2 separate regions of the Homo sapiens genome follow, and region 1 is linked to region 2. The links are contacts of gene promoters, found by promoter capture Hi-C in blood cells and fetal thymus (Javierre and others, 2016). All regions are on one chromosome and are shown on one strand. Each heading gives the region's core, a stretch centred on a gene start or on the middle of the fragment in contact. The rest is flanking DNA. Distances are from core to core; before and after follow the strand shown.

What was found. The method cuts DNA at HindIII sites, captures the fragments that hold promoters and counts their contacts. A CHiCAGO score of 5 or more calls a contact.
Region 1: a contact is called between a fragment that was not itself captured here and the fragment with the promoter of CDK5R1 in region 2, in 14 of 17 cell types (naive CD4 T cells, naive CD8 T cells, total CD8 T cells and 11 more). The highest score is 33.1, in naive CD4 T cells.

What each region holds. Positions count from the first base shown.
Region 1 is chr17:32,599,159-32,604,830 of GRCh38, reverse strand. The region is part of intron 21 of MYO1D (myosin ID); the gene reads left to right. Among named protein-coding and RNA genes, the nearest start is that of CDK5R1, 120 kb to the right of the region's middle. The HindIII fragment of the contact is 2,527 bases long and covers 1,382-3,908 here.
Region 2 is chr17:32,482,948-32,488,598 of GRCh38, reverse strand. CDK5R1 (cyclin dependent kinase 5 regulatory subunit 1) reads right to left here and starts at 1,606. Exons shown (of 2, transcript NM_003885.3): 1 at 1,437-1,606; 2 at 1-1,123. The coding sequence starts at 978. The coding sequence ends at 55. PSMD11 (proteasome 26S subunit, non-ATPase 11) reads right to left here. Exons shown (of 14, transcript NM_002815.4): 14 at 5,280-5,651. RefSeq lists enhancers at 520-1,079, 2,319-2,820 and silencers at 967-1,256, 1,347-1,606, 1,717-2,246. The HindIII fragment of the contact is 10,728 bases long and covers 1-5,651 here.

The DNA.
Region 1 (5,672 bases), core at 1,396-3,895, 120 kb before region 2:
CTGTCGATCCAAATGCAATTAAATCCAAAAGATAGACAAATTACTTTATATTCTTCTCGTCATAGCTTCTCATTTACCCCAAGTATAATCAGTTTGTGTGTCCACTATGACCATAAGCAAATTAGAAGGCAGATTTGGGATGGTTTGCAAGTCCATGAAGACTACAAGAATTCCTGAGAGAGGCAGTGACCACTGCAGAAACATGGAGTCATGATGGAACATGGCATAATCTGAGAACTTCATAGTAAGCCCTGATGATACCTGGGGCAGGGGGGTGAACAATGATATAATAAATATAAACAGAGAGCAGGTCCTGAGAGTGATGGGGACCAGTGAATGGATAATTTTAAGCAGGGGAGTGATTTTGTCTGGTTATTTATTGGAGTTGTTTCAGAGATTGGATTTCTCTTCCCATAAGGGGTCATGGAGTATTTGGGTGGGTGTATCTCTCCAAAGTCAAGTGCTCTCTTTGTGGCATGCTGCCTTCACCTCCCCAACCCCACCTGATGCTGGGAGAAGACCACTCATCAAAATCAGTGACTAAGAAATGATACAAGTGTAGTTACTTTTTCTTCCTAAAAGACATTTCCTGAGTTCCTAAAATTAATCAAGTATTCCTTATTAGTATGTTTTTTTTTTTCAGTTTAGACGTGGCTTCTCTTTCTCTCAACAAACACATATTTGGAATCAGATGTCCACATATCTAATTCTATTGTATTCATTTTGGCTGATAAATGTATAGAGCATAATTTTAGAGGTGGGCTGCACAGACCATTTATTTTATGTTATTACACCTTACATTCTAGATCAAAGTAGATCTTTAAATATTTTCTATCATTAAATGCTTTTACATGCTGTAAGTAAAATAATACTTAATGGTCATTTGTGGGGAAAAAATAAGAAAGTAATTACCAAAAATAATAATAAATGCATAGACTTTTGAAAATTCCTTTCCATCTGCCAAATAAATGTAAAGCTAAGAAAAATTTTAAAAAGTTTAGAATGTGGCCAGGCGCAGTGGCTCACGCCTGTAATCCCAGCACTTTGGGAGGCTGAGGCGGGCGGATCACGAGGTCAGCAGATCGAGACCATCCTGGGTAACACAGTGAAACCCCGTCTCTACTAAAAATACAAAAAATTAGCTGGGCTTGGTGGCGGGCACCTGTAGTCCCAGCTACTCAGGAGGCTGAGGCAGGAGAATGGCGTGAACCTGGGAGGCGGAGCTTGCTGTGAGCCAAGATCCCGCCACTTCACTCCAACCTGGGCAACAGAAGGAGACTCTGTCTCAAAAAAAAAAAAAAAAAAAAAAGTTTAGAATGTAAGGAAAAGACATAAAGAAGGCATCTCTGCAATAAATGTCTATAACTCAAATAAGCAAGCTTATTTTCCTGCTAATATTTATAGCAAAGTATAGAAAATTAAAGGAATTTTAATTTGTTACTCTTAATTTGGATACCAGTACTAATGAATGCAAGAGTTTTTGCCTGGGAGATTGAAGTATTTTATCTCTATCTGGGTGCTTATTTAGCAAATTCTGATCTATTAAGTGCCTTCTACAAGTGACAGAAATACGTGAACCTGGATGTAGATTTCATCAGTTGCTTTCTTTTCCTAGCTAGCATATGCATGCTGAGGTACATTTCTAGGCGTATGTCCTCTATCTTTAATGTATGTAAGGATTTTTAATTTCTTTAAAATTTATAAATGTGAAGAGAAGACTATCAAGATGCTAGGAATTTTTTGGTGGATTTTTTTTTTTTAATTCTTGGTGTTTCTATCTTATGAATTAAGAGTGAAGTGGAAATGAGAGATAAAATCTTTCCTCCCAGACCCCAGAAAAGTCAGGCTTGAAATTTTGACTTAGAGTTTTAGTCATCAACTTACTATTTACTTTTTGGGAAAAGGTTAATTTGATTTTTTCTAGCTATTTTCCTTTATTGTCAACTATCGTATCATTGCCATGACATTGAAATTCACATTGTATTTTATAAGCATGATGTTGTGGCACATAATCTTATTTGTCCCTGAGTTAATTATGGAAATCCAAAGGTTCGGGAGGGAATTAACTTCAGACCAATTCTTTATCTTCCAGATAATTTCCCTAAAGTACATTCTGAGATGTGTTCTTGTCAGCAGTTGGGAGGAAAGGGCTCAAAACTTCCCAAGGCTGAGGCAAGAACCAGCTAAGAGGACCAGAGGGAACAGTGCCCAGCCTCACAAAGAGCCAGGAGTAGTTTCTGATCTAACAAGGCAGACTAAAGAACTTCGTCATTCACAGGGTAATTGGGTACAGTATTCAGAAGGGTTTTGCCTCAGTAGGGGGGAATAATTGGCCCTAGAATAAATGCTGCTCTGGTACCACCTAATAAATCTTAAAAGCAAGACCCAAAAGGATCAAACTGCTTCCAAGTAACTTAGCTATGTCCTGAAACAAAGCTCATGTATATTTCTAAAAACACAAAAATATCCATACCCAACAGGTAAAATTCACAATGTCTGACATCCAGTCAAAGATTACGGGCATGCAAATAGGAAAATACAGTCCATTATGAGGGGGAGAATCATCCCTTTGAAACCAACCCAGAACAGACAAAGATACTAGAATTAGCAGATACAGACATTGTAAGTCATTATAACTAGATTTCAGATGTTTATAAGTTAACTAGAGATAAGGAAGATGTAAGAAAAAGACCCAAATCGAACTTCTAGATGAAAAATACACTGATGTTTGAGATATTCCATGATTTAAAAAGAAAACAAAACAAGACAAAGCATGTCCTCGAATAAATTTTTCCTCATCACCATGAGTTGAAGCCAGAACTTTCCTGGCATTTCCTTTCACATGAATCTTGAAACAAAAACCAACTAAGTATAAATTAGTCTCTCTTTCACCTCCTGCAGTCTTTATTCAATCCAGACCCATTATTTCTGCCTCTCCAAGTACACACCCACATATTTTATGTTTGCTAAAACATTTGAAGACAATCTTTAATAAAGTACAGGTATACCTCGTCTTACTGTTCTTGACATTATTACACTTCACAGATATTGTGGTTTTTATAAATTGAAGGTTTATGGCAACCCTGCATTGATCAAGTCTATTAGCACCATTTTTCCTACAGCATATGCTCACTTTATGTCTCTGGACACTGGAAGAAGATGCCATCTAGAACTTTCATAGCTAGAGAGGAGAAGGTCAATGCCTAGCTTCAAAGGACAGGCTGACTCTTTTGTTAGGAGCTAACAAATTGCCACAGCAATTTTGATAATTCTCATAATATTTCAAAACTTTATATTGTTATTAACTGCTATGGTGGGCTTTGATCAGTGATCTTTGTTATTACTGTAATCATTTCAGGGCACCACAAACTGTACCCATGTAGGACAACAGACTTAACTGATCAATGTCGTGTGCGTTCTGACTGCTCCACTGACCATCTATTCCCTCATCTCTCTTCCTCTCCTCAGGCTCCCCTATTCCCTGAGATACAACAAGATTGAAATTAGGTCAGTTAATAACCCTACAGTGGCTTTTAAATGTTCAAGTGAATGGGAGAGTTACACATCTCTCAGTTTATTTTAAAAACTAGAAATGAGCCAGGTATCATGGCTCATTCCTGCGACCCCAGCACTTTGGGAAGTTAAAGCGGGAGGATTGCTTGAGGCCAGGAGTTCCAGACCAAGGTCTGCGCAACATAGTGAGACTCCATCTCTACAAAAAAATTTAAAAGTTAGTCAAGCATGGTGGTGCACACCTGTAGTCTGTAGTCCCAGCTACTTAAGAGGCTGAATTCAAGGCTGCAGTGAGCGATGATCGTGCCACTGCACTTCAACCTGGGTGACAGAACAAGACCTTGTCTCAAAAAAAAAAAAAAAAGGGAAAAGAAAAAGCTAGAAATGATTAAGCTTAGTGAGGAACGCAGGTTGAAAGCTGAGATAGGCCAAAAGCTGGGCCTCTTAAATTAAACAGCCCAGTTGTGAATGCAAAGGAAAAGTTCTTGAAGGAAATTAAAAGTGCTACTGCAGTGAATACATGAATAATAAGAAAGTGAAACAGTCTTATTGCTGATACGGAGAAAGTTTGAGTGGTCTGGATAAAAGATCAAACCAGCCACAACATTCCCTTAAACCAAAGCCTAATGCAGAGCAAGGCCCTAAACTCTCTTAAATTCTTTGAAGGCTGAGAGAGGTGAGGAAGCTGCAGACGAAAAGTGGAAGCTAACAGAGGTTGGTTCATGAGAATTAAGAAAAGAAGACATCTCCATAACATAAAAGTGCAAGGTGAAGCAGCAAGTGATGATGGAGAAGCTGTGGCAAGTTATTCAGAAGATCTAGCTAAGATAATTGATTAAGGTGGCTACACGAAACAACAGATTTTTCAATGCAGACAAAATAGCCTTACACTGGAAGAAGATGCCATCTAGGACTTCCGTAGCTAGAGAGGAGAAGGTCAATGCCTAGCTTCAGAGGACAGGCTGACTCTTTTGTTAGGAGCTAATGCAGCTAGTGTCTTTAAGTTGAAGCCAGTGCTCACTGACTGTTCCAAAAATCCCAGGGCCCTTAAAATTACACAAAATCTACTCTGCCTGTGCTCTATAAATGAAACACAAGGCCTGGATTACAGCACATCTGTTTATAGCATAGTTTGCTGAATATTTTAAGCCCACTGTTGAGACCTGCTGCTCAGAAAAAAAAGATTCCTTTCAAAACATTACTATGCATTGACAGTACATCTAGTTATCCAAGAGCACTGACGGAAATGTACAAGGCTTGATTAATGTTGTTCCCATGCCTACAAACACAGCATCTATTGTGCAGCCCGTGGATAAAGGAGTAATTTCAACTTTCAAGCCTGATTATTTAAGAAACACATTTCATGGCCAGGCACAGTGGCTCACGCCTATAATCCCAACACTTTTGGAGGCCGAGGTGGGCTGATCACCTGAGGTCAGGAGTTTGAGACCAGCCTGGCCAACATGGTGAAACCCTGTCTCTACTAAAAATACAAAAATTAGCCAGGCGTGGTGGCACATACCTGTAATCCCAGCTACTTGGGATGCTGAGATAGGAGAATTGCTTGAACCTGGGAGGCGGAGGTTGCAGTGAGCCAAGATCACACCACTGCACTCCAGCATGGGCAACAGAGTGAGACTCTGTCTCAAAAAAAACAAAATGAAAGAAAAACATTTCATAAGGCCACAGCTGCCATAAATAGTGATTCCTCTGATGGATCTGGGCAAAGTAAACTGAAAACCTTCTGAAAAGGATTCACCATTCTAGATGCCACTAAGAACATTTGTGATTCATGGGAGGAGGTCAAAATATTAACACTAACAGAAGTTTGGAAAACATTGATTCCAACTCTCATGGATGGCTTTGAGGGGTTCAGGACTTCATTGGAGGAAGTTATTGCAGATGTGGTAGAAATAGCAAGAGAACTTGAATTGGAAGTGGAGCCTGAAGATGTGACTGAATTGCTGCAATCTCATGATAAAACTTGAATAGATGAGGAGTAGCTTCTTATGGAAGAGCAGAGAAAGTGGTTTCTTAAGATGGAATCTACACCTGATGAAGATGCTGTTAACGTTGTTGAAATGATGACAAAGCATCTAAAATATTATATAAACTTAGTTGATAAAGCAGTGACAGAGTTTGAGAGGATTGACTCCAAT
Region 2 (5,651 bases), core at 357-2,856:
AATAAATTCTTAAAAATGCATTGAATCCTTGAGCCATGACGCAGGCTACAGTGCTCACCGATCCAGGCCTAGGAGGAGCCGCTTCTTGTCCTCCTGGCCGCTCTCGTTCTTCAGGTCGGAGAAGACCTGTGTGAAGTAGTGTGGGTCGGCATTTATCTGCAGCATCTTTGAGCTCATGAGGTTGATGACAGAGAGGCAACGGTCCCAAAAGGCCTCCTTGCAGCTCTCCACCAGGAAGGGCTTGAGCGGGTAGGAGATCTCGTTGCCCATGTAGGAGTAGGAGAGGTACAGGCATGTCAGCAGGACGGCCTGGAGCTCGTGATCCGAGCCCACCTCGGAGGAGATAACATCCCTGCAGAGCATGTAGAGGAAGACCACGTTGGCCGGCGTGATGAAGCCCTGGTCCTGCCAGCCCTGCAGAAGCAGCGAGCGGTCCACGCTGCGCAGCCAGAGCACGGGGTCCGTGGGGGACAGGTGCTTCAGGCGGTAGCACCGGCGGCAGAGAAACTCACCCAGGCAGCGAAGCAGCTCACTGGTGGACGCCTGGACGATGACCCGTTTGGGCGTCCCTGCGGAGGTGACGGCAGGGTGAGGGGCTTTCTTGACTGAGGAGGAGCCCCCGGTCTGGGAACCCGAGAGCTGGCTGGCCGGGGGTGCAGGCGGCTGGGCCGGTGGGGGCTGGGCGAATGTGGACAGGTTGGCGCACGACAGCGACTTCTTCAGGTTCTCATTGTTGAGGTGCGTGATGTTGTTCTGGTAGCTGCTGTTGGGCTGCACCTTCTTGGAGTTCTTCTTCTTGGCCGACACGGCCACGATTCTCTTCCAAGGCAGCACGGAGATGATGGAGTGGCGCTTCAGGTTCTTGTCCTTGGCGTTCTTGCTGTTCTGTACGGCCGTATAGTGGCCCACGGTGGCCGCGCCATCCTCAAACAGCGTGGCCTTCCGGTAGCTGGGAGACAGGGACAGCACCGTGCCCATGGTGCTGCTGCGCGCCGGGCGGGGGCTCGCGCCCCTGCGCGCCCAGCCTGCCGGCCGGAGGGATAAAACCGCTCACCGAGCCTGCGGCGGCCCCGGAGAGGAGGCGGGGGCGCTCCCGGGAAGCGTGCTGCCCCCTTGGATCTGCCTGGAAAACAAGATGGTTCTTAGCGCCAGGCTGGGCTCCGCGCCGCGCCCCTGCGCCCCTGCGCCCCTCCGCCCCGCGCCTCGGCGCACCCCGCCGCCCCAGTCCCGGGCCCTACCCGCGCCCCCGCGACGCAGCCTCGCCGCCTCCACTGCAGCACCCCCGCCCGCCGCCGCCGCTGCGGTCCCCAGGCGCAGCCGGGAGGGGCCCGGTCGCCGACGGAGGCGGCCGAGGACCCCCGCCTGGACACCCCGCACGGGCGCGACCCCGGTCTCCGCTCCCCAGGGCCAAGGACGGCCGCCCAGCGCAGGCTTACCCGGCAGGCGGCAGCTCCTGCGCTCCGCGCCCTCCGCAATGCGCGCCGCGGCCCCGCCGCCGCGGTCCCGGCGCTCGGCGGCGCTCGGGGGCGCTCGGCGGGGATCGGCTGGGCTCGCGCTCGGCGGCGGCGACGGCGGCGGCGGCGGCGGCGGCAGCTAGGGAGCTTCTGTCCAAGGTTCTGCAGGCACCGCAGCCCCGCCCCCCGCTCGGCCGCCCGCACCTTCGCCGCCGCCGCCGCGCTCCCGCTCCCGCTCCCGCTTCCGGCGCGCGCCTCAGCGCCCTCCCTCGCGGGGCGCGCGCGCCGTCCACGCTCCGGCCTGGTCTCGCCGGGGAGTCGCGGCCGTTGGTGTCCTCAGCTCGAGCCGCGCACGGTGCGGGTAGGACGCGGCAACGAGCGGGAGGCACCTCTACGCGCCGGGCCCCATCTAGGAGCCGGACTCCGCGGCTGCGGCGGGACACGCGGCGTCGGCCCGCCCCGCCCCTCGGGGCCGCCCCTCCCGCACAGCTCGCCGCCCGCTCCGCGCCGCCGCCCAACAGCAGCCCGGCCGCCGGAGAGTCCTCGGCGCCCGCGCAACCCAACTCTGCCGACGCGGGGCGGGCGCCGAGCAGGGCGGAGCCGAGGGCCGACCCCGCCCGCGTCCCGCCCAGACACGTGCTGCCTTTGTTCCCGCCGCGGCGCCCGCAGCTGCCGGCCGCGGGGGCACTCTCGGCCGAGTCCCTGCCCTGGCAGCGCGCGGCCCGCCCTCTCTGAGGCTGCCGCCCTGGCCTGGTGAGGAGCCCTCCGCCGAGGCCAGGGTCCGGAGCTCCCTCCTTCCACCTGACATCCCCGTCCCTGTGGAAAGCAGCCAGGGAGCGCGGGGAAGAAGGCCCTGGGCGGGGAGAGGCGACGCCTTTACTGAGGCCTCCCGAGTGCCACGCGCACCTCGAGTGGACAGTCCAATCGGTTCTGGCCACCCCTCCGGGGCCTCCGTTCCCTCATCATGGGTAGATGACCGCGGCCGAAGTGGGCCTCAGAGATCCAAGCCAGAGAAGCGTGGCCCGTAGCCAAGCCTGAGCCCGTCACAAATATGACCTCTAAGTTCCCACTCGCCCTCTTATTTGTCATATTAAAGCTGAAGCAACTGCCCCTCCGGCCAGCTTTCTGACCCTCTTAAACGTTTTCAATTCTAAGTATGTATAATTTGAGAACTTGATGCTAGCGAAATTGAGTAAAATTCTGTTTCTGAAAGCTGTTCCTGTCAGATGTGAATCCAGATCCTTCACAAAGGCTGTTGTTCATTTACTATTTTACCTTGTTTCTGGAGATCGAGTCAAAACTGACCACAAACCTGGGAAACAGGAAACTTAAGCCCTGTCTTAATCCAGATTATCTCTGGACCTAGAGATGAGGGAGTGGCTCTCCAGAGGAGAGGATGCCACCCAGTTACCTGACCACTCCAGCCGACTAGGCTTTCACCAGCCCTGTCAACTGTCCTAGGGGGAACAGAAAGGGAATCTGGCATCATTCAAAATGGTGCAATCAAGGCAGAAAGTGCTGGGTTTTGTTTATGTGCCACTCAGATTTCTGTCAATAGGAATTCCAGGCTTTAGGAACCTTGGGGGGCAAGGCATACAGTGGAAAATGCATTGCTCTGTACCCAGAGGGCTACTTTGTCCACAGCCTTTCAGAACATCCACAACAGCTGTTATGGGAACTCAGAAGAGGAAGGCAGGCCCCCAGCTCAGTGCGCCCCTCCCTGTGAATGTTCCTCAGTGTACAAGCCTACCTGCTCTTCAAATGGAGCTGTCCTCAACCCTCCTGCATGTAACAGTAAGAAGCCAGAAGAGGCCGACGCAGTGGCTCATGCTTGTAATCCCAGTATTTTGGGAGGCCGAGGCGGGTGGATCACCTGAGGTCAGGAGTTCGAGACCAGCCTAGCCAACATGGTGAAACCCCGTCTCTACTAAAAATACAAAAAAAATTAGCCAGGCGTGGTGGCAGGCACCTGTAATCTCAGCTACTCAGGAGGCTGAGGCAGGAGAATCGCTTGAACCTGGGAGACAGAGGTTGCAGTGGGCCGAGATTGCACCATTGCACTCCAGCCTGGGCAACAAGAGCGAAACTCCATCTCAAAAAAAAAAAAAAAAAAAAAAAAAAAGCCAGAAGAAACGATTTGCTTCGAGACCCTGACCAAGTGTCCCTTTTCCTTCTCAAAGGAAAGCCGAACCCCAGCCTCTTTTCCTCAGCCCTTACTTGGAGCCTCTAGCTCCTGAGTTGGCTCTGTGCCCCCCTTCAGATTCTAGTGTTGAGCCAAGGTTAAATGTTTTCCACTTCCCAAAATATGTCCAAATTTTGAAGCCTATAATCCACCCCGGCCAGGCGTGATGGCCACACTGTGTCCAGCAGTTTCAGAGGCCAAGGCGGGCGGATCACCTGAGGTCAGGAGTTTGAGACCAGCCTGGCCAACATGGTGAAACCCGTCTCTACTAAAAAAATTAGCTGGGCGTGGTGGCGGGTGCCTATAATCCCAGCTACTCGGGAGGCTGAGGCAGGAGAATAGCTTGAACCCGGGAGGCAGAGGTTGCAGTGAGCTGAGATTGTGCCACTGCATTCCAGCCTGGGTGACAGAGTGACACTTCGGCTAAAAAAAGAAAAATCCACCCCCTAGAAAAACCTGGGCCCACTCTGTTACCTTTAACTCTCAATCTCAATTCTAGCTATTCCAATTCACGGGGAGGCGGACCAAGCTCACCCCACTACCCTGCTTCCCACTCTGCAGCAGCATGCCTCTGCATGGGCCTTTTCAAGCCAGGCCATACCCTGTGTCTTCTCACCTTTGTCCAGCCAGCCTTTCCCTAGCACCTTCAAACAGAGCTCTCGGCAGAACACCAGCCTCCTCACACTTGCCCAAGGCAAAGTCACAGTTGCAGCACAGCAGGAATGGGATGGCACTGGCAGCCCACTTGCTGCTGCGACTAAGGGAGGGGTCTCCAGGAGCTCCTATCACCCAGGCCATGCCTGTTATGCTGGTTTTCAGACACCACAGAGCTCCTCTTTTCATTCAACCCACCACCACCTCCCCACCCCCAGTTCCTATCACTGCTCCAACTGGAAGCAAGGAAGAAAGGACAGTCAACTGCCAGAAATGGCAGAACCAAGGACCCAGAAGGCAGACCCAGTTGAATGAGGCAGAGCTGTTTTCTTCCTAGCTGCCTTCATCATAGAACTGCAGGGAAGATTTCCAAATCCCACCCCCATCAATCAGCCTACTTAGCCTATTGCCTATCTCTAGCTGCCTGAAGGGCCAGCCTGCTTGTTAGCTTCCCTGCTGGGCTGGGCTGCCCGTGGACTGCCGGAGAGTCCACTCTTCCTGCATGCCCCACTTCCCATAGCATCCCGAGGGAGGGAGGTCAAGGCGGGGGCCAGCTACAGCTTCCAAGAAGGGTTCCAAATAGAGCAGGCCTGAGCCCTTACTCCTGAGGAAGTCGGCTTTGTTCTTTCAGGGATCACAGAGCAGCATCTAGTGGCCCTTCTGAGCAGCACAGATTACATAACTAGCACACAGCAGGGGACCAGAGCCTCTGCTCCCAACTCCAGTAGAGTCTCATTAACACACAAGAAAGTCCTGGCACCATGAAGGCTGGAGCCCAGAAGGGAGGTGAGGGAGCCGGGCCCAGGCCAGCCCACCGGCCAGCTGACCTTCCCAGCTGTGCCTGGACTCAGGTCATGAGAGGCCTGGGAGAGGAGGCAGTGACACAACTGCTGGTCCTGGAGGTCTAGAGCTGCGCTGTCCAGATAGAAGCCACATAGGTAACTTTATATTTTCTAGCAGCCACATTACACAAGTAAAAGGGAAACAGGTGAATTTTAATAATATATTTTATTTAACCCAATACCCAAAATATTTCAACACATATATAAAAAAGTTATTGACATATTTTACACTCCTTTTCTTTTGTTATCATACTAAGCCTTCGAAGTCTGGTTTGTGTTTACACTTGCAGTGTATCACAGCTCGAACCAGCCACGTTGCAAGGGCCTGACAGCTGCACATGGCTAGCGGCTACATATTGGACAGCACGGGTCTAGAGGGCATCATCTGACCAAGACCCGCAAAGGGAACTGAGAAAAGGGCTACTGCCTGAGCATCTCAGGACTGCCCTAAGTTTGAGAAAACATCTCCCCTCTACTCCAAAACTAGATCTCTTTGGAGTACTTTTTAAAGTCCTTTAT